Linked DNA regions of Homo sapiens: all the other regions are linked to region 1. The links are contacts of gene promoters, found by promoter capture Hi-C in blood cells and fetal thymus (Javierre and others, 2016). All regions are on one chromosome and are shown on one strand. The core of a region is centred on a gene start or on the middle of the fragment in contact, and the rest is flanking DNA. Distances in the headings are between cores, read along the strand shown.

The links. Contacts are between HindIII fragments. The CHiCAGO score rates a contact against its expected background, and 5 or more counts as called.
Region 2: the fragment with the promoter of APOA5 here is called in contact with the fragment with the promoter of CEP164 in region 1 in 9 of 17 cell types (neutrophils, activated CD4 T cells, naive CD4 T cells and 6 more); the score reaches 9.0 in neutrophils.
Region 3: a fragment that was not itself captured here is called in contact with the fragment with the promoter of CEP164 in region 1 in 1 of 17 cell types (neutrophils); the score reaches 5.8 in neutrophils.

The regions. Positions count from the first base shown.
Region 1 is chr11:117,325,399-117,329,298 of GRCh38, forward strand. CEP164 (centrosomal protein 164) reads left to right here and starts at 2,456. Exons shown (of 33, transcript NM_014956.5): 1 at 2,456-2,506. RefSeq lists a silencer at 2,524-2,773. The HindIII fragment of the contact is 8,937 bases long and covers 1-2,911 here.
Region 2 is chr11:116,789,891-116,793,353 of GRCh38, forward strand. It overlaps APOA5 (apolipoprotein A5), which reads right to left and starts at 1,989. Exons shown (of 3, transcript NM_001371904.1): 1 at 1,922-1,989; 2 at 1,696-1,807; 3 at 1-1,177. The coding sequence starts at 1,970. The coding sequence ends at 238. The HindIII fragment of the contact is 6,000 bases long and covers 1-2,923 here.
Region 3 is chr11:116,752,120-116,756,004 of GRCh38, forward strand. The region is part of intron 9 of BUD13 (BUD13 spliceosome associated protein); the gene reads right to left. Among named protein-coding and RNA genes, the nearest start is that of BUD13, 19 kb to the right of the region's middle. The HindIII fragment of the contact is 4,243 bases long and covers 1-3,771 here.

The DNA.
Region 1 (3,900 bases), core at 1,206-3,705:
TTTTGAGACAGAGCTTCGCTCTTGTCAAACAGGGTGGAGTGCAATGGCGAGATCTCGGCTCACTGCAACCTCCACCTCCTGGGTTCAAGCGATTCTCCTGCCTCGGCCTCCCGAGTAGCTGGGATTACAGGTGCCTGCCACCACAACCAGCTAACTTTTGTATTTTTAGTGGAGATGGGGTTTCACCATGTTAGCCAGGCTGGTCTCAAACTCCTGACCTCAGGCGATCTGCCTGCCTCGGCCTCCCAAAATGCTGGGATTACAGGTGTGAGCCACTGTGACCGGCCAAGACTTTTAAAGAAGATGGAGAGGAAAGGGGACGATGATTTGTCATTTACAGTAAGAATAAAGGAAGTATAGGCATAACTGCTGCAGAAGGATTTAAATTTAAACATGATGACGTCAATCTAAATAACAGAGAGGGAAACTCCAAAAGAAAATGATATTTATTTAGAAGTAGCATTGCAATAGGTATACACATGCCATAGAGGCTGGGCAAGTAGGACCTTTTTTTTTTTTTTTTTTTTTTGAGACGGAGTGTCGCTCTTGTTGCCCAGGCTGGAGTGCAATGTCGAGACCTTGGCTTACCACAGACTCCGCCTCCTGGGTTCAAGCGATTCTCCTCTCTCAGCCTCCCGAGTAGCTGGGATTACAGGCATGCACCACCATGCCTGGCTAATTTTGTATTTTTTAGTAGAGATGGGGTTTCTCCATGTTGATCAGGTTGGTCTTTAACTCCTGACCTCAGGTGATCCACCTGCCTTGGCCTCCCAAAGTTCTGGGATTCCAGGCATGAGCCACTGTGCCTGGCTCAAGTAGGAATTTTTATTTTATTTATTTTTTTAGACGGAGTCTTGCTCTGTCACCCAGGCTGGACTGGAGTGCAGTGGCTTGATCTGGGCTCATTGCAACCTCCACCTCCCGGGTTTAAGTGCCTCAGCCTCCTGCCTCAGCCTCCTGAGCAGCTGGGACTACAGGCGTGTGCCACCATGCCCAGCTAATTTTTGTATTTTTAGTAGAGACGGGGTTTCATCATATTGGCCAGGCTGGTCTCGAACTCCTGACCTTAGGTGATCCACCCGCCTTGGCCTCCCAAAGTGCTGGGATTACAGGTGTGAGCCACTGTGCCTGGCAAAGTGCTAGGATTACAGATATGAGCCACCAGGCCCGGTCGATAGTTTTTGTTATCAGGTATTCATGCGTGAGAACCCTCTCTTCATGGTCTTCCCTGGCTCCATTTGTCAGGGTTTTAAAACAAATGACTCTATTTTGATTTTGATAATTTTCACAAGGAATATGCTCTGTATATTCCAACAATCTGAGTTTCTCATCCTGGAATCAGCCTCTGAGTGGCACTGGGACTATCCTGAGTCAGCTACATCTCTAGAACCTATCAGGAGCGGCTCTATGAGCTTGGCCTCATCATTTTCCTCCTCAACTAGCAGCATCTGTATTTGTCTGTTTCTCAGTTTTCCTATTGATGTAATGGCCAGAACTTTCTTTGCCCCTCTTAACTTCTCTAGGAGGTTGGAGACATATGAGAGAAAGGAAGATTTGCCCTCCGTGCAAGCAAAACTAAAACTCTTCGGAATTATATTAGTAGCAACCTTTCTGCCCGACAGGGTGTGTGGAGGAGCTACACATTGTGTCACTTTTTTTCTTCTTCAATAGACTCTTTGAAATAGTTATGACAGACATTACTATCCCCATCTTGCAGACATACAAACTGAACCCTGGGCTTTGGTGAAAAGATGGATAGTAGAAAATAGGTTTAACTCCTGGTCAGGTGCTCACTGGTTTAATAGGAGCACAGGAGAGCCAGTTTTTTTGCGGGGAGAGATGGGGAGTGGACGCGTCTCCATTACCTTACATTCACATTTGTTTTGTTGATTAAAGTAACAATGGGTTGATTATTGATGACCACTGTATTATTCACCTGATGTTAATCATACTCCTAACAAATGATCAATTAGATAATTAGATAATTCACATTAGTATAAATACTCTAAATAGTCCTTCTCTGTCCTGGCAGAAATCCTCACGTCTAAACTCGGGGTCCTCTTTTTTTTTTTTTTTTTTTTTTAGTAGAGAAGGGGTTTCACCATGTTGGTCAGGCTGGTCTCGAACTCCTGACCTCAGGTGACCCACCCGCCTCGGCCTCCCAAATTGCTGGAATTACAGGCGTGAGCCACCGCGCCCAGCCGATGAGGTTCTCTTTCAACCTCTTGCGGATTCCCATTATCTATCTTAAACTACACTCTTTCAACCTCTTGCGGATTCCCATTATCTATCTTAAACTACACTCCCATCGTGCAACGGAAAACGGACAGAGCTCCTGCGTGCACCGAAGGGACTTCGAGCCAATCCATTGTCACAGCTCTCAGCCGGCGACCTATTGGCTCCTGCTGGAGGCGGGACTCCCGGTTGCTAGGCGGTACCTTTTCCGGAAGTGTTTGTTGCGCGCTGCAGGGCAACACCCCGGCGTCCCTGGAAGCTGGGGGAGCGGGTGGGTGTTGGGTGGCGTTGGGGGAGCTGCGCCTCGCCCAGAGCCTCGCCCGGAGCCTCGCCCGGAGCCTTCCGGGGTGGGGGATAGTTGAGGACCTCATCGAGGGAGGGGTTGGGCGGCGGGGAAGGGAGCGAGCGTGGCGGGGGACCCGAGGCACGCTCTCGAGCCAACGAGCGTGATGCGCTCGAGTGTGGGCGGGGACTGAGGGAAGAAGTGAAAATCGGACTGCCAGGCGACAGTTCCTCCGTTTGAAATCTCGCCGGCTCCTGAGCGGGCCACCGGGCCCGGGCTGGGGGTCTGGCGGGTGAGTGAGCAGCGGGTCGGGACGCGGGAGAGGGGCACTGGGCACGGGGCCCTGGTTTGCTTGCTCTGTTCATCGTTGGCGAGTGAGGCCAGGCCTTCCGAAGCTTGCTGGGATACTTCTGTGGCAGGCTTCCCCCCGGGTCCAAATCCGGGGCTAGCCCAATCTTATGCCATCTTTGGCCAGCTGGGAAAGTTGGAAAGCTTTTTTGTTTTTTCCTTTTCTTGCATTGGATTTAAAAATGTCCCTCTACCTCTGGCACCGCTCTCCTCACTTGGCTTCAGCGACTCCCTGTCCGTTCTCCTAACTCAGTCCTTGGCAGTAGAAAGCTCCCTTCTACTCGGCGCACTCCATCTCTTGCGTTATCAGCTTTTCAGCGTTGACTCGCCAAACTACTCCAGCCAGACCTCTTTCCTGAGCTCAGACCTGCTTACTGTCATCGTCAGCCTTCCCCGGTCCCTCCGATCTGTTTCTCCTCTTGTATTTTTTTATCTCAATGAAGGGCTTCACCATTCACTCAGCCAAGTCTGTCCCTTTAATTTATTCATCTAATAAATACAGCAAACATTTGTCGGACATGCCCTGTCTTCTAGGCAGTGTAGTAGGTGGGGCTGCCTATTGGACGAGGCATAGAAATGAACACATCTAGAAATGATAGTCACAGTGTTCTGGCTTTAGTGCTCTGATTTCCCTCCTCTCTCCCGAAGTTCAAGTCCTGTATTCTGCCTCTTAATTCCCCTAGAATCTGGCGCTTCCTTTCCATCCTCACAGACACTGACTTAGTTCATAATTTCTTGCTTGTGCTTTCAGGATAACTTCCTAAGTGGTCTCTCTGCCTCAGTTCTTGTCCTCCTGTAATTAGTTCTTATGCAGCTGTCAGAATCATTTATTTATTTTAGAGACAGGGTCTTGGTATGTTGCCCAGGCTGGAGTGCAGTTGGTATTCACCGGTGTGACCCTAGTACACTGCAGCCTCGAACTCTTGCCCTCAAGCCATCCTCCCACCTCAGTCTCCTTAGTAGACGGGACTACAGGCATGCACCACTATTCTTGGCTAGAATCGTCTATCTGACCTACAGATCTGGTCATGCCA
Region 2 (3,463 bases), core at 739-3,238, 540 kb before region 1:
AAATGAGCACTGGGAGGCTGGGTTTGCAAAGCCTGGTGAATGTAATGCATCCAGATTGGGGAGTCGCAGGAGGCTGGATGTGCAGGAGACAGCAGCCCCTTTGGTGGCCTCCCTGTCCTGCACAGGACCTTCCACCCTCCACCCAACAGGCCACTTTCAAGGACTGAACCATGCTAGAGGCTCAGAGCCAAGGCTCCCCAGACAAGGAGCTGGGAATGGGCCTGGGCAGGTAGATCCTCAGGGGTCCCCCAGATGGCTGTGGCCCTGGTCATGAAGGCTGTGAGTGATGTCTTCCCACAGGTCATCCAGACGGGCCTGCAGCTTGCTCAGAACCTTGCCACTGTCTGTTTGTTGAAACTCTGGGGCGAAGGCACTGTGGCCTGGTGGAGGTGGCGCCAGCTGCTGCTGGACCTCCTCAGTCTCCTGGTCGATGGCGCGAGTGAAGGCAGCTATCTGCAGGTAGGTGTCCTGGCGGAAAGCCTGAAGTCGCTGGCGCACCTCCTCGGAGAGCATCTGGGGGTCCGGGCCGGCCCCTTCCTCAGTCCCAGTGCCTGCAAAGGCTCTGCTGAGCTCTTCGCGCAGCTGGTCCAGGTTCTGCTGGATGCGTGCGTGCAGGGCCTTGGCCTTGAGCGTGAGCTTCCGGGAGAGCACCTGCACGCAGCGACTGAGGCGCGCGGGGCTGGCGGGGGCGTGCGGAGCCACACTGCGGTGCAGCTCCTGCACGTGGCGCCCGATGCCGCTCACCAGGCTCTCGGCGTATGGGTGGAAGAGCTCTTTGAAGCGGCCGGTGTGGTGCACCACGCGGCTCTGCAGTCCCTGCAGCAAAGCCCAAGCCTCGTCCACGCCCCCCAGCAACTGGGCCTTGGTGTCTTCCCCCACCACGCGCAACTGCTCCTGCAGCTCCTGCACGCGCAGGGCCACCTGCTCCATCAGATCCATCGTGTAGGGCTTCAGTTGCTGCCGCAAGCCCTCCAAATTCCAGCCCACCAGCTCGTGCGCCTCTGCCATGTAGGGCTGGAGGCGAGCCTTCACCTCCTCCAACTCCTCCTGCAGCTGCCGCCGCATGCCCACCGGGTCCTGTGGGAGCCGAGGAGCCTCGCTCCCACTCAGAGGCCTCAGCTTTTCCAGGAACTTGTTCATATTGTTGAGGTCTTGCTCAAGGCTGTCTTTCAGGGTCCTGGAGAAGGGGACAGATATCCAGGCCGTCAGACTGCTAGCCTCCATCATCTCCTTTGTCCCCAAGTCATCGCGCACTGATCCTCTGGGGGAACCAAGGACGCAGGGCGTTGGCCCCAGGGTCGAGGGCTCTTGTCCTAGCCCTGGCCAGTAACAACTCACGCACGAAGCACAAACACATTGCCCATACAAATCCAGACCTACAACACTCTCCAAAGAAACATAGATGCGCCACATCATCCTTTGATTCTGGGGACTGCAGCGGGCGTCCTCCCGATTGATCCCAGGTCCCGCGCCTCAGTGAGCAAGGGGGCAACAGCTACGGAGTTGTCAAGGCGGGGGCTGCAGGCAGAGGGCGCTAAAGAGCCCAGGATGGCCGGGATCTGCAGACAGAGCTAGCACCGCTCCTTTCCTCTGTCCCAGCAGCGGCCACAGAGGTTGAGGCAGCAGAGGCAGGTCATCATGGCATGGCCCAGCTGTCTCCTCCCTTCGCCTACACCCCTTCCCCTGGGCACTCACGCGGGCTCGCGAGCCATCTTCTGCTGATGGATCTGCTCCACCCTGCCTTTGTCCCCGCTGGTCTGGCTGAAGTAGTCCCAGAAGCCTTTCCGTGCCTGGGTGGCCGAAAACGCTGTGGAGAGGGACTAGGTAATCAGGGCCTGGGCTCTCCTCCCCCAGGGTGGACAGGGCCCTCTGGCCAGCCTCCACCCACACCCCCACGTTGAAGTCAGGGTCGGAGACCCACCTGAAAGAAGAGCCAGAGCCCAGGTGAGCACGGCAGCCATGCTTGCCATTACCTGCTCTGAGAAGACAGGTGGAGGGAGGCCTGGTTAGGGGAAGAAGGAGACGAAGGGACATGGCGCAGGGGACTTGCCCAGGGGGCCTCTGCAGGGGCAACTGCCCGAAATCCTGTTACCCCTTCCTTGGGCTGGGGAGCACAGAGCTGTTGGGGCTCAAGAGGACTGACCTAGGTGAGTCAAGGAGGCTAGGGTGTCTTCCTCAGACATGGGAAGAGGGCGTGCTCTTGCTACCTCAGTCACATAGCAGGGAGCGTGGTGCTCTAACCCCTTCGCAAAGGTCCCAGACCCCAGGAACAGTTCTCTAGGCCACTTCTACCACCTCTCCCCTGCCCACCTGTCTCCCTCCCTCCCATTTCATGGTGGAAAAACTGAGCCATAATGAGGGCGAAGAGGCAACTCTGCCAAAATGTTCCAAGAGGACGTCTTAGGGGCCACCCCAGGCTCTCCCCTGAGGCCACCTGCAATGCCCTCCCTTAGGACTGTGACCCCCATCCCTCTGCCCCAGCTGCTCACCTGCTCACGTCTGGGCACAGAGAGCAGACATTCTGCTTTATACTCCAGGGCCCTGAGCCTCTGGCACCAATTGCTCTGAGTAAATACCACGTGGAAGTTCAAAAGAAGTTGACCTCAGCTGCCTCCCAGCACTCACCTCCTGCCCTTTCCCTGGCACCCAGAGGGTTAATGAGTGCCCTGGTATCAGGGGCTGCCCCAGTAGAGAAGTGCTTCCCAGGAGCTTTACGGGGGATGGGGCTGAACTCCTCACCCAGTTTCTCCCAAACCCCATGACCTTTAACCTTCCCACTGACCTGCTGGCTGGCCCACCAACAGAGAAGAACCTGTTTGTCTGCCAAGGGCCCCTCTCTTACACAACTACCCAGAGTCACTGTGTCCCAGCCGGCAAGATGGACAGTGTTCACCTACCAGCCAGAACCCGAGCAGCCCCTGAAAGCTTCACTACAGGTTCCGCAGGCATCCTCAGCCAGCATTCATAGGGTTAAAGACCAACCACATCCCTCTTTATGAAACAATCCTGGAACAAGCAAGGGAAGCCAGGCAGGGTGAAGATGAGATGGCAAGAGGCATCTGGGCCAGGGACTCTGAGCCCCAGGAACTGGAGCGAAAGTGAGATTTGCCCCATGAGGAAAAGCTGAACTCCACTCGCAGGGCCTCTGAGGAGAGCAAGCCCAAATGCTCAGATCTTCTCTGATGACACACCCACTCCGTCTACAGTACTCATACACACGTTCACAAGCTCCCGATTCTTGGTCCTAAATGCATCTTGAATCAATCCCCTCTCCTCCATTTCCACTACCATCATTGCACCAGTTGTCTGTCACCTTGATTGCATTCATAGCCTCCAACAGGTCTTTCTACCACACTCCTGCCCATTTAATTCATCCTCCACTGTGGCTCATCCTGACTCATTTCCAGTCTCATCTGCTGCCACATAAAACCACGGCATTCCCTGAGCCTTTATACAGGCTTCC
Region 3 (3,885 bases), core at 400-2,899, 570 kb before region 1:
TTTTTTTTAGTAGAGACGAGGTTTCACCATGTTAGCCAGGATGGTCTCAATCTCCTGACCTCGTGATCTGCCCGCCTCGGCCTCCCAAAGTGCTGAGATTATAGGCATGAGCCACCGCACCCGGCCCCGTTTCTCTTTCAATTAAGAGAGGCTGGGTAATTATCTTATGGGTTTTTCCAACAGATACTATATATCTGTTCCGGAAATATTCCCTTGCAGCAGGCCGAAAAGAGACAAAACTAGAAAAGATGATGAAAGATGAATAACAAAAAGAAAGCAAGGGTGACAAAGGGAAATAAGAGAAGAAATCTAGGATAAAATCAGAACAAGAAGTGGAAAAAAGCAACTGAGAAAAATGAAGACAAATTAAATACTAGTAAAAAAAAACTAGGTCAGGGAGAATTCTAAGTTTTGGGTCCAAAAATTAAAAAACAAAAAACAAAAACTCGGTAGCAGGGAACATCTGTAGGGTTGTGCTATAAAAAGATCTACTTCTGGCTGTATGTATGGCAAATGAGTGTTCTGAAAAATCCTCCTTCTACCAAAAAGCCTACATACAGTGAACTGCAAACGGAACTAGTAAGCTAGCCTGTAACCACAGCTACCCTAAAGATATCTGCCAAGATGAGGAACTACAGTCAACTTATAGATATCTGCCAATATCAGAAAGAAGAGCCTTAAATTTTTTTATTCTGGAGTTGGGGTCTCACTATGTTGCCTAGCCTGGACTTAAACTCCTGGGTTCAAGCGATCTTCCTGCCTCAGCCTCCCAAATAGCTGGTACTACAGACACACGCCACCACACCTGGCTGTTGGATTTTGACGGCACCCCGAGGGACAGAAGACAACGCCTTAGGCCCATATAAGGTGGGGAGACAGATTCTAGACATTGCAGAGTAACCCGAACAGACTAACCTATCCTCAGTTAGCAACTATAAAACCTAGACAAAACAAAAAAAATAGGTATTTGAAGGTGTGGAAGAGTGACCAAAAGTAAGTATGAACTGGATGAAGTCTATATGTGAAAAGAGATTTGCTGGAGGGCAACTTCCCAAACAGCATGGCTCATGAAGGCAGAAAGCCACAGGCTTACTGGCTTGAGGAATTAGTGCAAAGTGGGCAGAACAGCTAGGAAATTAGGGGGGAAATCTTGGAAGAGAAGGAACTACAAAAGAGATGAACCTCAAAATCTACATACAAACCCTAGTCAAATCCTTGGCTAACTGTTAAATGACACATGTGCAGAGAAAATACCATCAGGCCAATTAAAAAAATGGCAGCTAGAAACTAAAAGAACTGAGCAAAGATTGTAGCTGCCGTCCACTGCAAAGGAGACAGTTTGGAGTTCAGCTATGTTAACTACCTGCTAGAATAAAAACTAACACACTTAAGAGGAATACAGTGTAACAGAACTCAAAGTCTCTACAGTGTATCATTCATGATGCGTAGTAACAATTTTAAAAAGTGACCAGACAGGTAAATAAACAGGAAAATGTAATACACACTGAAGAAAAAGCTGTCAATAGAAACCAATCCTGTGGTGAATCCAATGTTGCAATTAGCAGACAGGACTTCAAAGCACTAATTACATATCATAAATATTTTCAAGAAGAGGAAAATGTCTCATAATGAACAGATGGGAAATCTCAGCAGAGAAATGTAAGCTATTAAATGGAAATTTTAGAGTTGAAAAACAAAATAAACCAGCTAAAACAAAAAATCCACAATTGATAGTAACTGATAGAAAAATACAAACACAAAAAACCCAGAATACAGGCGATCTAAGATCTAAACACCTTGACCTCACTGACTTTTATAAAACACTACCTTATATAGCTACAGAATATACGTTCTCTTCAAGTGCAAAGGAAACATTCAGAAGATAGACTATCCACTGGGCCATAAAACACACCTTAACAAATTTCATTTTTATTATTGTTTTTTGATACATGGTCTCACTCTGTCATCCAGGCTGGAGTGCAGTGGTGCAATCACAGCACATTGCAGCCTCGACCTCCCTGGGCTCAGTGATCCTCCCACCTCAGCCTCCACAGTAGCTGGGACTATAGGCGTGTGCCACCATGCCCGACTAATTTTTGTATTTTTTTGTAGAGACAGGGTTTTGCCATGTTGCCCAGGCTGGTCTCAAACTCCTAGGCTCAAGCAATCCGTCTGCCTTGGGCTCCCAAAATGTTGGGATTACAGGCATGAGCCACTGTGCCTGGCCAACAAATTTCAAAAGATCAAAATATTACAGTATATTATCTGACCAAAATGGAATTAAATTATAAGTAAATAGCAGTAAGATATCTAGAAAAGTCCAAATATTTGGAATTAATGCACTCCTAAATAACCCATGGAGCAAAGAATAAACCAAAAGGATAATTAGAAAATATTTTGAACAAAATCCAACATACATTCCTGAAAACAAAACTCTCAGCAAAACAGGAATAGAAGGGAACTTTAACTCCATAAAGGATATCTACAAAAAACCTATACAGCTACAACACATTTAATAAATGTGTTGTAAAAACTAAATGTTTTCTTCCTGAGATTAGGAACAAAGCAAAGATGTCTGCTCTCACTACTTCTATTCAACATCTGCACTGAAGTGCTAGCTAATGCAACAGGGCAAGGAAAAGAAACAAAAAGCATCTAGATTGTAAAGTAAGAAATTAAACTGTATGCAAAGATGGAAGACCCTCTAGGTACAAAATCTGATGGAATCTATAAAAAGCTATTGTACAAAGTGAGCTTTACCTGAAGGAAAACAACTGACAATACAGTGTAACAGAACTCAAAGTCTCTACAGTATATCATTCATGATGTCCAGTAACAATTTAAAAAAGTGACCAGACAGGTAAATAAACAGGAAAATGTAATACACACTGAAGAAAAAGCTGCCAATATAGAAACCAATCCTGTGGTGAATCCAATGTTGCAATTAACAGACAGGAAGGACTTCAAAGCACCAATTACATATCACAAATATTTTCAAGAAGAGGAAAATATCTCATAATGAACAGATGGGAAATCTCAGCAGAGAAATTAAGCTATTAAATGGAAATAGCTCAAGCAATGGAAATGCCAGTGATAACATTTAAACTTTCAAGTGTAAATTAGAATTCTGAAAAACTGTGAACTCTTTAACTTCCCATTATTTAAAGAGTTTTGTGATAAGACCGGAAGTGATGTTAACAAAAGTGATTTTCTGATATTGTATAGTGGAAATATGTCAACATTTGGAAGGTCTGAACAACTCAGCAAACCAATATTTTACAAATGACCAATGCATGATGTTATAAAATCATGCATGGGTAAAAGATCCACTCAAAGTATTAAAAAAATTAATATAACAGTAAGGAAAGTTCTTTGATCTGGTTTCAGGTTCCACATAGCTCACCTTTAAGAAACCAGCACTTGTTGAGTTTTTGTGTAACATTAAGAAATATAATATGCCTTCTCTTTCTAACTACCTATGTGTGAGGCTAAATTTTCTTTCTATACTTCAACTGAACAAATCACAACAGACAAATACAGAGTCAAGTTACCTATTATTAAGTCAGACATTAATGAGATTTGCAAAAATGTAAATCAATGCCATCCTTCTGTTTTTTCACTTGGAAAATGTAATTATTTTTCATTTAAATATACAGTAATTATGTTAACATAATTAGTTTATTTTTTTTTGAATGAATAAATACTTTTTAAATGTCTGAGTTTTAATTTATAATATGGTAAATATCAATATATATAATCCACATCAACAAAAGCTTTTTGAGGTCATCAGTAATTTTTAAGAGCGTAGGCCAGGCACGGTGGCTCAAGCGTGTAATCCCAGCACTTTGGGAAATCGAGGCAGACAATCATATGAGCCCAAGAATT